Linked DNA regions of Homo sapiens: region 2 is linked to region 1. The links are contacts of gene promoters, found by promoter capture Hi-C in blood cells and fetal thymus (Javierre and others, 2016). All regions are on one chromosome and are shown on one strand. Each heading gives the region's core, a stretch centred on a gene start or on the middle of the fragment in contact. The rest is flanking DNA. Distances are from core to core; before and after follow the strand shown.

Evidence for each region. Contacts are between HindIII fragments. The CHiCAGO score rates a contact against its expected background, and 5 or more counts as called.
Region 2: a fragment that was not itself captured here is called in contact with the fragment with the promoter of LINC01426 in region 1 in 8 of 17 cell types (monocytes, total B cells, naive CD8 T cells and 5 more); the score reaches 7.3 in monocytes.

Annotation. Positions count from the first base shown.
Region 1 is chr21:34,743,931-34,749,560 of GRCh38, reverse strand. LINC01426 (long intergenic non-protein coding RNA 1426) reads right to left here and starts at 3,736. Exons shown (of 3, transcript NR_038885.1): 1 at 3,545-3,736. It overlaps LOC107985515 (a long non-coding RNA gene), which reads right to left. Exons shown (of 3, transcript XR_001755016.1): 3 at 5,623-5,630. RefSeq lists enhancers at 2,355-2,649, 2,856-3,355, 3,356-3,857. The HindIII fragment of the contact is 11,220 bases long and covers 1-5,630 here.
Region 2 is chr21:35,823,063-35,828,908 of GRCh38, reverse strand. No RefSeq gene overlaps it. Among named protein-coding and RNA genes, the nearest start is that of MIR802, 110 kb to the right of the region's middle. The HindIII fragment of the contact is 3,595 bases long and covers 1-3,111 here.

The DNA.
Region 1 (5,630 bases), core at 2,487-4,986:
AGTTACTTGGGAGGCTGTGGCAGGAGAATCACTCGAACCCAGGAAGGAGAGGTTGCAGTGAGCCAAGATCGCACCACTGCACTCCAGCCTGGGTGACAGAGCGAGACTTCGTCTCAAAAAAAAAAAGTAATGAGATGTCATTTTTCTCATATAAACTATAAAAATATTTTGTAATTAAGTGATACTGAGTGTTCCCTTGGGTGGAGAAGACACATGGTACAATGTTTCAGAAGAGCATTGGATTCTGCTTATCTAAAAATGTTTTCATGGGCATCCTTTAACCCAGCATTTTCACTTGTAGAATTTTATCCTGGGGAAAGAATCCAACAGATGTATAAAGATACTTTTTCCAGAATGATTATCACTTCAGTGCTAATAACAGCAAAAAATTTGAAGCACCTAAATAAGCGACAATGGAGGGCTGATTAAACAAATTTTGCAACATGTATGAGTCAAAGTTTATTAAGCACCCATTTAAAAAGATGGAAGTGAATATTTAACAGAATGGAGAACACGGCACGTGAAGAGAAAGGTCACAAAACAATGTGCTCTTCATAATTTTTACTTCAAAGTAGGTATGGGTGTATATGTGTGTGTGTAGAGATTTATATAGCTGATGAACATCAGTCAAAGGGGACCATTTTTCTGTCTGAATGGTGGATGATGGGTGATGTTAATTTTGTTCTTGGTACTTCTCACTATTTTTTTAATTTTCTATTAATAGAAAACCTGGTAGCCCTTAAAGAAAATACACTGTTCTCATAGGCAATAGAGGTTTAAATGAAGAAAATCCCAGAAAGCAGTGTTCTTTCCTGCTGAGTTTAGCGTTCAACATAAACAAAAAACTGATAGCCCCCTGGCAGGATTATGTAGGGTTGGACAGAACGATGGGTGAAAACGTCTGGCGTGAGATAGACAAGTTGGCCAAGGTGGTTGTTCTCTGAGATCTCCCTAATGACACCACACACACACACACACACACACACACACACACACACACACAGTGCCTCTTGCTACACCACACTGATCTAATCCAATCCAGTCTCTTGGGAGTTTGAGATTAGACAGACACCAAGAGTTGAGACTGGGGCATGGGAAGGCAGGTCCCCGAGAGAGGGACACCTGGCCACAGAAGGGCCAACTCAGTGCCCCAAGGTCACCTCTGAGCCCATGAAATGCGTCTCCTTCCAGTACTTCCCACTTTTAGTTACACCGAGATTAAACTGATAAACCAGAATCCATTTCTGTGGTTTGTAACCAAAAGAGCCTCACCGGTGCCCAACCGCTTTGAAGAAGTTAGACTCCTTTCCCAGCTTTGTCCATTTCTTCCCCGGCACATCTGTTCTCTCAGCAAGCGAGGCTGGAAGACACACCATTGGCAGAGCACTGTGCTCAGCGCCTTTTAGACTTTCACGTGGAGTAATATCACGTCGAGGTCTTGCCGTTGAGGTTGTCGTAATGCAGCTACAGGAGTTGTGTGGGCTCTTTAAAAATGACATGAAGCAGGGCACAGTGGCTTACGCCTATAACCCAGCACATAGGGAGGCCAAGGCAGGCAGATCACTTGAGGTCAGGAGTTCGAGACCAACTGGCCAACATGGTGAAACAGCGTCTCCACTAAAAATACGAAAAGTATCTGGGTGCGGTGGTGGGTGCCTGTAACGTCAACTACTCAAGGGGCTGTGGCAGGAGAATCACTTGAACCCAGGAGGCGGAGGTTGCAGTGAGCCGAGATCATGCCACTGCACTCCAGCCTGGGTGACAGAGTGAGACTCTCTCTCTGAAAAAAAAAAAAAAAAATGACATGAAACTGACTCATCAGAGCTCCATCAGGCCACGGGCTACAAATGTGGCTGGGCCACGTAGACAGAAAGACACACGGCCCTGGTGTAGGAGAGGAAAACACACTGTTTTCAGGGAGGTGGAATTAGGGGTTTCCCTGTCCCTTCTCTCTCAAAGCCTTTTCCAATGAATCTAGAATTTTTAGTTTCTTAATAATGTTCCTGTTGCTCTTCCATCTGGATGCAAAGGAGATCTATTCACGACATCTCCAAGAATGAACTCCATAAGAGCAGCAGAGTGGTCAAGGCCTACTTTCCCAGGGGTTCATTTTCTTTTTGCCTTTTTTTTTTTTTTTGAGACAGAGTTTCACTCTTGTTGCCCAGGCTGGAGTGCAGTGGCACAATCTTAGCTCACTGCAACCTCTGCCTCCTGGGTTCAAGGAATTATCCTGCCTCAGCCTCCCAAGTAGCTGGGATTACAGGTATCCACCACCATGCCCGGCAATTTTTTTTTTTTTTAAGTAGAGACAGAGTTTCACCATGTTGGCCAGGCTGGCCTTGAACTCCTGACCTCAGGTGATCCACTCGCCTCGGCCTCCCAAAGTGCTGGGATCACAGGCGTGAGCCACCGTGCCCGACCAAGGTTCATTTTCAATGCTGTTGACACGAAGGCTAAGATCACAGGGGAGGTCACAATTTTAGGATCTCAGCTTTTAGAATGCTGTCTTTTTAACCCCTTCAGCATTTCCATCTTATTGGAAAAGGGCAGGCAGGAGGGCAGATGGGAGGGAGGGAGGCAGTTGGGCTTTCTTCCTGTCCAGGGGCCAGCTCTGCCTTCCTGGTCCTCACTCCCAGCCCCACTCCTTCCTTCCCCTGTTCTGTGCCTCTCCTATCTACTCCTTCCACATCCCTAGCCACCTCACAGGCTCTTCATGGGGCTCAAGTGAGATAATGCAGGGTGTGAAATTCTTTGTCAATGAACGCATCAACTCTACGTTCCATTTGCTGTCATTATCTCCTGTATCTTTGTTCCACTTGTGCAGGTGATTTGTCCCCCCGCCAGTCCCCGTCCCCTCACCCCCAGTTTCATGGATAAGGACCAGCTGTAGACTCTGCCAGGCCCTGGGCAGTGTTGGTATCGTGCTTGGAGGTGCTGCTCAGTTATGCAACCCACCCTCCTCCCCCAGCCAGAGCCACAAAGCCACTAGGGCACTGTACCAGTTTGTTTATTTATTTATTTTTGAGATGGAGTCTCCCTCTGTCACCCAGGCTGGAGTACAGTGGCACGACCTTGGCTCACCACAACATCCGCCTCCCAGGTTCAAGCGATTCTCCTGCCTCAGCCTCCCGAGTAGCTGGGATTACAGGCGCATGATGTCACGCCTGGCTAATTTTTGTATTTTCAGTAGAGTCGGGGTTTTACCATGTTGGTCAGGCTGGTCTCAAACTCCTGACCTCAGGTGATCCACCTGCCTTGGCCTCCCAAAGTGCTGGGATTACAGGTGTGAGCCTCTGCTCCCAGCCCCACCGTGTTTAGCTTGGTTAGGCACAGAGCCTTGCATGAACCAGCACCTCGGGGACCCCATGACGAGGTCAGAGCGGGTGAGAGGCACGCACCAGTGTGACTGAGCCACTCGCTGGGACTCTGGGGGCAGCGTGGTGGGGCTTGAGATCAAGGAAGTGCCTGCAAGTGGATTCAACGATGAGACACTTCCCCGGCCCACAGGGTGGAGGGGTTGGCTGGAGGGGTTGCCTGTACTTACCAGAGACGGTCCCCGAGCGAGCTTGATAAGCTGAAAGAGACGCTCAGGAGAGCCCTGACAGAGCTCCCCAGGCTGGAAAGGACAGAACTCCCCACCGGAACTTTCATTTTCAAAGTTCAGCACCTCAGTTAAGTAATTAATAGGTCTGGTCACGTTCACAGCTCTCCAAAAGAGACTGATGGAGCTCTGCTTTTCCTCCGGAAGTGCTTTCATGGCAAGCCCAGAGAAGCCCCCTAGGAGGCAGCCTGTCATCCAATAATCACTTCCTCTCTCAGGCCCAAATTCCAAATCAGCTCAGCAATGGGCAGGGCGGCCCTGAGCCACGTCCAGAGGTTGGGATTTGCTGACTCCTGGAGGATATTCTGAGTATAGCAAGTAAGTGAACTCGCACAAACAATGCGTTCAGCAATGGGAAGAAAACAGCTGTTTTTGTCCGAGAAGTGTCTGGCATACCCAAGACTTCTTAAAGAGAGGAAAATATTAACCTAGAGCATAACAACCCCTTTCTCTTTTCAGTCAAAACCTAGACAGACTGTGTTGATATTAAGTTAACAAGTTCCATGGGCTAATACCTTCCGAATGAAATGAGAGGGTTCTTAAATTAATAGATGAAAACTCCCCTTCATACATCAGAGAACTAAGGAAAGGTAATTGCCCCCAATATTTATTTTCGATTTGGAAAATCCAAAGCAAGAAGGCTTTGAAGAAGTCAAGATCTGATTATAATTCTAGGCTCGGTGCCAATGGGATAAATTATCTGGCAACTTTTTTTGCACAGTTATTGATTCTATTTGTCTCTGACGCCAAGCGCCCAGCATGGCACAAAGCCTCACAAAGTGCTCCGAAAAGGGTGTCATCCCCACACCGTTGATAAGGCTCAGAGTCTCTCCACGGCCATAATGCAACCCCCTCCTCCCCAGGGGGCTGTTGGCACCTCAACCCACTAAGGGATCAGGAAGTAGAGTTTGCCAGTGAGGAGCCTGGAGACTTCAAGCCTGTTTGGCCTTGGTGTTCTTGTGATTTAGTGCCCTGGACTGGCAGGTCTAGGGACTTTTTGCTCTAGACAAACTTTTTAAATAGGCCAGGTGCAGTGGCTCAAACCTGTAATCCCAGTGCTCTGGGAGGCTGAGGTGGGAGGGTTGCTTGATCCCAGGAGTTTGAGGCTGCAGTCAGCCATAATCACACCACTGCAGCCCAGCCTGGGAGACAGAAGAAGACCTTGTTTCAAAAAAAATTTTTTTAATAAATATAAATTTAAAAAATAAAAAATCCCAACACATGCACACACATACATGCACACACATACATGCACACACACACATGCACACACATACATATATATGCATGTGCAAAAGGTATGCCCAAGCTATACTCTCTTTATTTGAGTTTTAATTTACAGAAGTTTTCAACCTGGCCAGGCCTGGAATCATGGAGAATGGGCTGGGAATGGGTCTGCAGAGGTTCCCAAGGACATGTTTGAAAAGCATCCTCCACCTGGGAGAGCTGGGTCAGAATTAGCACACTCTAGGAGAGTTGGGGAACAGCTAAGAGCGGGGCACACCAGCTCGACTAACTGAGCCTGAGCCAGTGGGAAAGTCCTCATAGCAGTGGTCACTGGAGCACGAAACAGGGACATGGCTGGCTGGGGCTCCTTCCTCCGCCCCTCCCCAAGCACAGGTGGGCATGCCGTGGTGGGGCTGGGAAAAGGCCTATGGCCAGGGAAGCGCAGGATGACAACAAAGGAATGGTCAAGGCCTAACAAACAGAAACAGCGATGCAAATTGCCTAGGAGATGGAGCGGCAGTCACTGGAGCTGGCGTTGCCCAGACTTTGGTTGGCTTCAGGGTGACAGTTCAAGAAGGCAGCTCCTCCTGTGGGCCAGTGAGCTTGCTCCAAGAGCAGCCCTTTCCAGCTGACGCCCAGAGTGACCCAAAGGCTCTCCCGGAAAGTCCGGTTCTAAGACGATACAGCTGCCCGTCATGGAGCAACCTGCCCAAAACCACAGGGGGAAAAAAATCCAATAACCAAATCCCGGTGACCACACCCTGTCTGCAGTTACTCAGAACTCACTGGCCAAGGTCCAGGG
Region 2 (5,846 bases), core at 65-2,564, 1.1 Mb before region 1:
GTTTCCATCATTACCTTCCAGGTGTAAGCCCACCTGCTTTTTGTGTAAGCCAGTGCATTTATCTCTTAGAGAATCTTTCCTCCTCTTTCTCCAGCTTCCATGTTGTCTTTAGGGTTACCCTCAGATTCATCTGTCTAAAGTGCTTTGTTCAAAACCTTCTCCGGACCCGTGTCCTGCAGAGAAATGTTCACTTTAGCATGGCATTTGGAGCTATTTACAATCTGATCTTAATTTATCACCTTAGCAACAGGTGCTCTCAGTCCCCAGACACCCTGCCTCAGAGCTGTGCCATCCAGTCTCACGCCTTTAGTCTATGGCCATATTGTTCTTGACTGAGGTCTTCTTCCCTGGTTGTTGAAATCTTACCTACCTTTTATGAGCTAATTTAAATGGAACTACCGGCCAGGCATGGTGGCTCATGCCTGTAATCCCAACACTTCGGGAGGCTGGAGATGGAGTCTAATACAAGAAACTGTCCCATATGCTCTTCAGAATCCTGAAGTTTACCTTGGTTCCCTTTAAAGTCTTTTTTTATGATTGATGAGTCATTTCAGCATTGTGCTGAATTCAAAGGCCCTCAATAAAAGATACAATCAAATATGGATGGGTCACCTGAGCCCAGGAGTTGGAGACCAGCCTGGGCAGCATGGCAAAACCCCAACTCTGCTAAAATACAAAAACTAACCAGGTGTGGTGGTGGGCGCCTGTAATCTCAGCTACTTGGGAGGCTGAGATGACAGAATCGTTTGAGCCCTGGAGGTCGAGGCTGCAGTGAGCCATGATAGCACCGCTGCACTCCAGCCTGGTGTTTAAAAAAAAAAAAAATTAAAACTACCATGTATAGAGCCTCCAGATTCCCCTAGTGAGAACAGAGTGCATTTTCCTTTGCAGCCTCCATCTCTTGCTACAGAATAAATACTTCTATTTTGCTATGTATCACAGTCTGGCCAGCATTATGGATATTTAGTTATCTATTTTCTTCTGGATGCCTTAGAGATGTGTTTTACTGCTGTTTGTGTGCCTCACTACTGAGTCCATTGTAAGCCATGGGAGATCCTGTATTTTAAATTGATATTTTGAAAAGAGAGTTCTTTATGTTTGGTTGGTGTTCCTTTTTTAAACTTCACTATCATCATTTCTAAAATCTCTATTAACATTATCAACACACACTGATTATCTTTTGCCTTTTTACAAATGTAATACAGCAAAACACTCAATACTTTGAAAACATTTTGAATTCATGTAAGTATGACTGAAAAATGTTTCCGAAATGTTGATTTGAAAACAATTGCTTGATGGATTTCAACTTTATGTTTCAAACTAGGGCCTATGTAGACTAAGCTGGAATTAAGCACCACACAGTTTCTCTGGATTTGGCCAAGCATGGCTCCCACCCAAGGGAGTTCACCTTGTTTTTCATTTACAGTGACCTCTGATGCTCAGGGAATGGATCAGTAGAAAAGAATAGCCTAAAACATATCTTGCTACAGAATAAATGAATGTCAGATGAAATGCACACACACATATGTGTGTATATTATATTTATATATATACACATATATATGAATCTGAACATGCGGACAGCAGATGATTTTTAGATGTGACTAACATACTCATTATGTCTTTAGAGCAAAATCCTCCACCAGGCTTATTGTCCTGAAGTTGAAATACAATAAGTTCACTGTCCAGTATGCTCCTCAGAATCCTGAAGTTTAGCTTGGATCCCTTTGAAGTCTTTTATTATGATTGATGAATCATTTCAGCATTGTGCTAAATTCAAAGGCCCTTAATAAAAGATAAAATCAAATGACTTACCAATCAAGAATACCACAAAAGACTGGAAATCAGGTGAAAATGTGGCATGAGCAGTAATACTAAACTTAAAGGCCTGTATCAATCACTATACATTTCCAAAAAGTTTGGAAACATTTAAAACTTTGAAAAGGTGCACATGACTGATTGCAGAAACTATCTGGGAAATATTTGAGTGCTGTTTGTGATAGAAATAAATTCCCGTTTGATACCCTTCTCCAGTAAATGTTTTATAATAGAGTTTGGCATCACAGAGCATGGGTGGAGAAAGATCTGTACCTTCCTGTTTGACAGCAGAGAGTCCCAGGAGGTGGCTGGGCTTTGGTCCCTGTGTCTGCGTCAGCCCCTGATGGGACAAAACTTGCTTTTTTTTTCTTCTATGAGACGGAGTTTCGCTCCTGTTCCCAGGCTGGAGTGCAGTGGCATGATCTTGGCTTACTGCAACCTCCACCTCCAGGTTCAAGCAATTCTCTTGCCTCAGCCTCCTGAGTAGCTGGGATTACAGGCGCCTGCCACCATGCCTGTCTAATTTTTTGTATTTTCAGTAGAGACAGGGTTTCACCATATTGGCCAGGCTGGTCTTGAACTCCTGGCCTCAGGTGATCTGCCCACCTCGGCCTTCCGAAGTGCTGGGATTACAGGCGTGAGCCACCACACCGGGTCAGCTTGCCCTTTTTTAGAGAGGCTGGTATTATGTTTAGATGGAAAGGGTAATTTTGACTTAGATTAAGAAGACTTAGATTATTACCCACAGGCTAAGATTTTGGTGTTCTTGGCAAGGACTGTTGAGGATATGACTTACCCTGTATTCCACTCTCAATACTGCAAGATGGCTGGGCACAAGACTGAAATGCTAACACCTCCGGGAGGGGGATTAATAAATTCCCGATGAAACCTACAACAGAAGAACTACCTTGTCCTCTATTTGTGAGAAAAGAGGAAGTCAGTGGGTGACCATGATTTTTCCCGGGAGAGCAAACAGACTGAGGTCTCCAGACCACCCTGGCAAGCATCCAGATCATACCAGGGAGGCAGCACATTCAAAAGAGGTTTTCAAAATGAAGATCAGCATCTGATCATTTTGTTCTCCAATTTTTTAAAACGAGGAATAATCAGCACATGATGTGTTAGGACAGCATATTAGTCAGGGTTCTCTAGAGGGACAGAACTAATAGGATAGATGTATATAGAGAGGAGAGTTTATTAAGGTGTGTTGACTCACACAGTCACAAGGGTGAGGTCCCACAATAGGCCATCTGCAAGCTGAGGAGAAAGGAAGCCAGTCCAAGTCTTAAAGCTTAAGAACTTGGAGTCCAGTGTTTGAGGGCAGGAAGCATCCAGCATGGGAGAAAGACGGAGGCCAGAAGACTAAACCAGTCTAGTCTTTCCATGTTCTTCTGCCTTTTATTCTGGCCGTGCTGGCAGCTGATTAGATGGTGCCTACCCAGATTGGGGGTGGGTCTGACTTTCCCAGTCCAGTGACTCAAATGTTAATCTGCTTTGGCAACACCCTCACAGGCACACCCAGAACAATACTTTGCATCCTTCAATCCAATTAAGTTGACGCTCAGTATTCACCATCACAGACAGCTCTTTGGCCCAGTGCTGCCATTACCCTGTAGACTTGTTGCAGTTTGTTATGCCCTGGATCAGATATCTTCACTGACCCTCGTTTCTGTTTAGGGGGCAATCCATCATCCTTAGCTGGCATCCAGGACCACCTAAAAACCAACCCAAACGTTTCTCTTACAGGCTCATGTCTCCTAGTCCTTGGCATTAATTCTTAATCTAAGTCAAAATGACACTTTCGAGGACCTTTAACCTGCCTGTCTCTGTACCTTTGCTAATGCCACTTACTGACCCCCAGAATGTTTTGTCTTCTTTGTTCCCATCCAATAGAAACTTCACGTAGAGTCAGAGACCCACTCACATCTCACACCTCCAGGAAAGCTTCCTAGACCATCCAAGATAATGTCACCATTTCATCTTCTTACCTCTAGAGTGCCCCCTGCTTTGACATTCTTGTACCATTTGGTCCATGCTGTCTTGTGTTGTCACCCTGTATATATGTGTTGGAAACCCTGGGCTGCTGAAAGGTTTTAGAAAATAAGAGACGCTCCCCTCCCCTTTTCTATTGGTCAGCACTTGGCATAATGCCTGCATAGGTAGCAGCTGCCCAGCATATTTCGTGGGGCACACTGGGTCAGTAGTTCACAGATAGACCCATTCATTCATTTCTTCCTTGAATACCTGCTCTGATAAGCTCTGTGCTTGTTCCTGGAAATATAGCCATGAGCAATAAAGTCATGGTATCTGTCTTCACGGAGCTTATAACCCCAAGGGGAAAACAAATAATCCCACAAATAACAATGATAATACTCATTGGGGCTCACCTGTACTGAAGGCCCCCTCTGTGCCAGCCCCTGTGCTAAATACTTTCCTCATATTATTTCATGTTATTCTCAGTACAACCCTGGGGGTAAGCACGATGACCACCTTCTTACAGATGAGGGGATGGAAACTTAGTGAGTCTCTTAGGTTAACTTGTCCCAAGGAGCCTGGCTAGTGAGTGGGATGGTGGGAGGTTGACCCAGTCTGTCTGGCTCCAGGGTCTGTGTTTTTTTAACCATCACATGATTTCAGTAATTACCAATATTACAGTGATGACAAATACCACAAACACCATATGTGCTGGTTTCCTATTGCTGTATAACAAATTACCACAAACTTAGTGGCTTAAAACAACACCGATTTCTTTTCTTACATTTCTGTGAGTCAGATCCGCCATAGATCTCACCAGGCTAACACCAAGCTGTTGCCATGACTGTGTTCCTTCTAGAGGCTCTGGGGGGATATCCATGTCCTTGACATTCCCCCCTTCTGGAGCCACCCACATTCCTTGACTCATGGCCCCTTCCTCCATCTGCAAAGCCAGTAATGTCACTTCTCTGATCCGTCCTCTGTCTTCTGTCCTCCCATCACCTTCTGATTGCAGGTGAGGAAGGTACTCTGCTTTTAAGGACTCTTTTGATGACACTGGGCCCACCTGGATAACCCAGAGTATGCTCCCCATCTCAAGACTCTTAGCTGAATCACATCTGCACTCCTTTATCTCATGTAAAGTAACATATCCATAGGTTTTAAGGATCAGGGCGTGGACATCATTGGGGGTCATTCCGCCTACCTTGTCCCGAGAAGGTGTAACAAGGGGAGTGGTCTAGAGAGGTGGGGGGTTCAGGCTTCCTAGGATGAAAGGACATTGAGGGTGGTGGAGTTGGCCAGATGGATGGGGAGGAGTAGGGTCATCCCAGGCTGAGGATGCATGAAACCCTTGCAAGGCCACAGAGACCTGATGGAGTGAGTGGGGGAGAGCAGCCCCTGCTGAGGCTGGAGACGGTGGCGGGGGCCAGGTCATGGGGAACATGCCTGGCAGGTTGGGAGGGATTCAGCCATGATTCCAGGAGAAATGGGCATTAAGTAAAAGGATCAAGTCAAGGTTCATGATAGATTTGCTTTTTCAGAAGGTCATTCTGGCTGCTGAGCAGAGAAGAGCTCAGCAGGAAGAGAGAGTGGATGCAAAATTAGGAGAATGCTTCAATAGAGCAGGTGGGAGATGCTGATTGTCTGGACTGGATGTGGCAGCACAGGTGAAGAGGGGATAGTTTGGGGTTTACCCAGAGTAACTATCAGGGCTTGCTATTGCTTAAATATGGAGGTAAGGGAGAGGGAAAGAAAGCATTAAGAATGACTTCCAGGTTTCTTAGTGGGATAACCAGAGGGATTGGGAGTGATATGATCAGAGCCAAGTGGCTGTAGAAGGAACAAAGGCAATTAATATAGAAAAAAAAAGTTCCTCTTGATGATAGGAGGCCAGAGTTGAGTGGGGACAACCAGGGAACAATTGAACACAATCAATCATGTGGATTATTTTTATGTATTTATTTAATTTTAAATGTTATTTTTACATTTAAACAATTTTTAAATTATCTTAATCATTTCGATTCTTTTAATGGAATATTTACAGAGACTATATT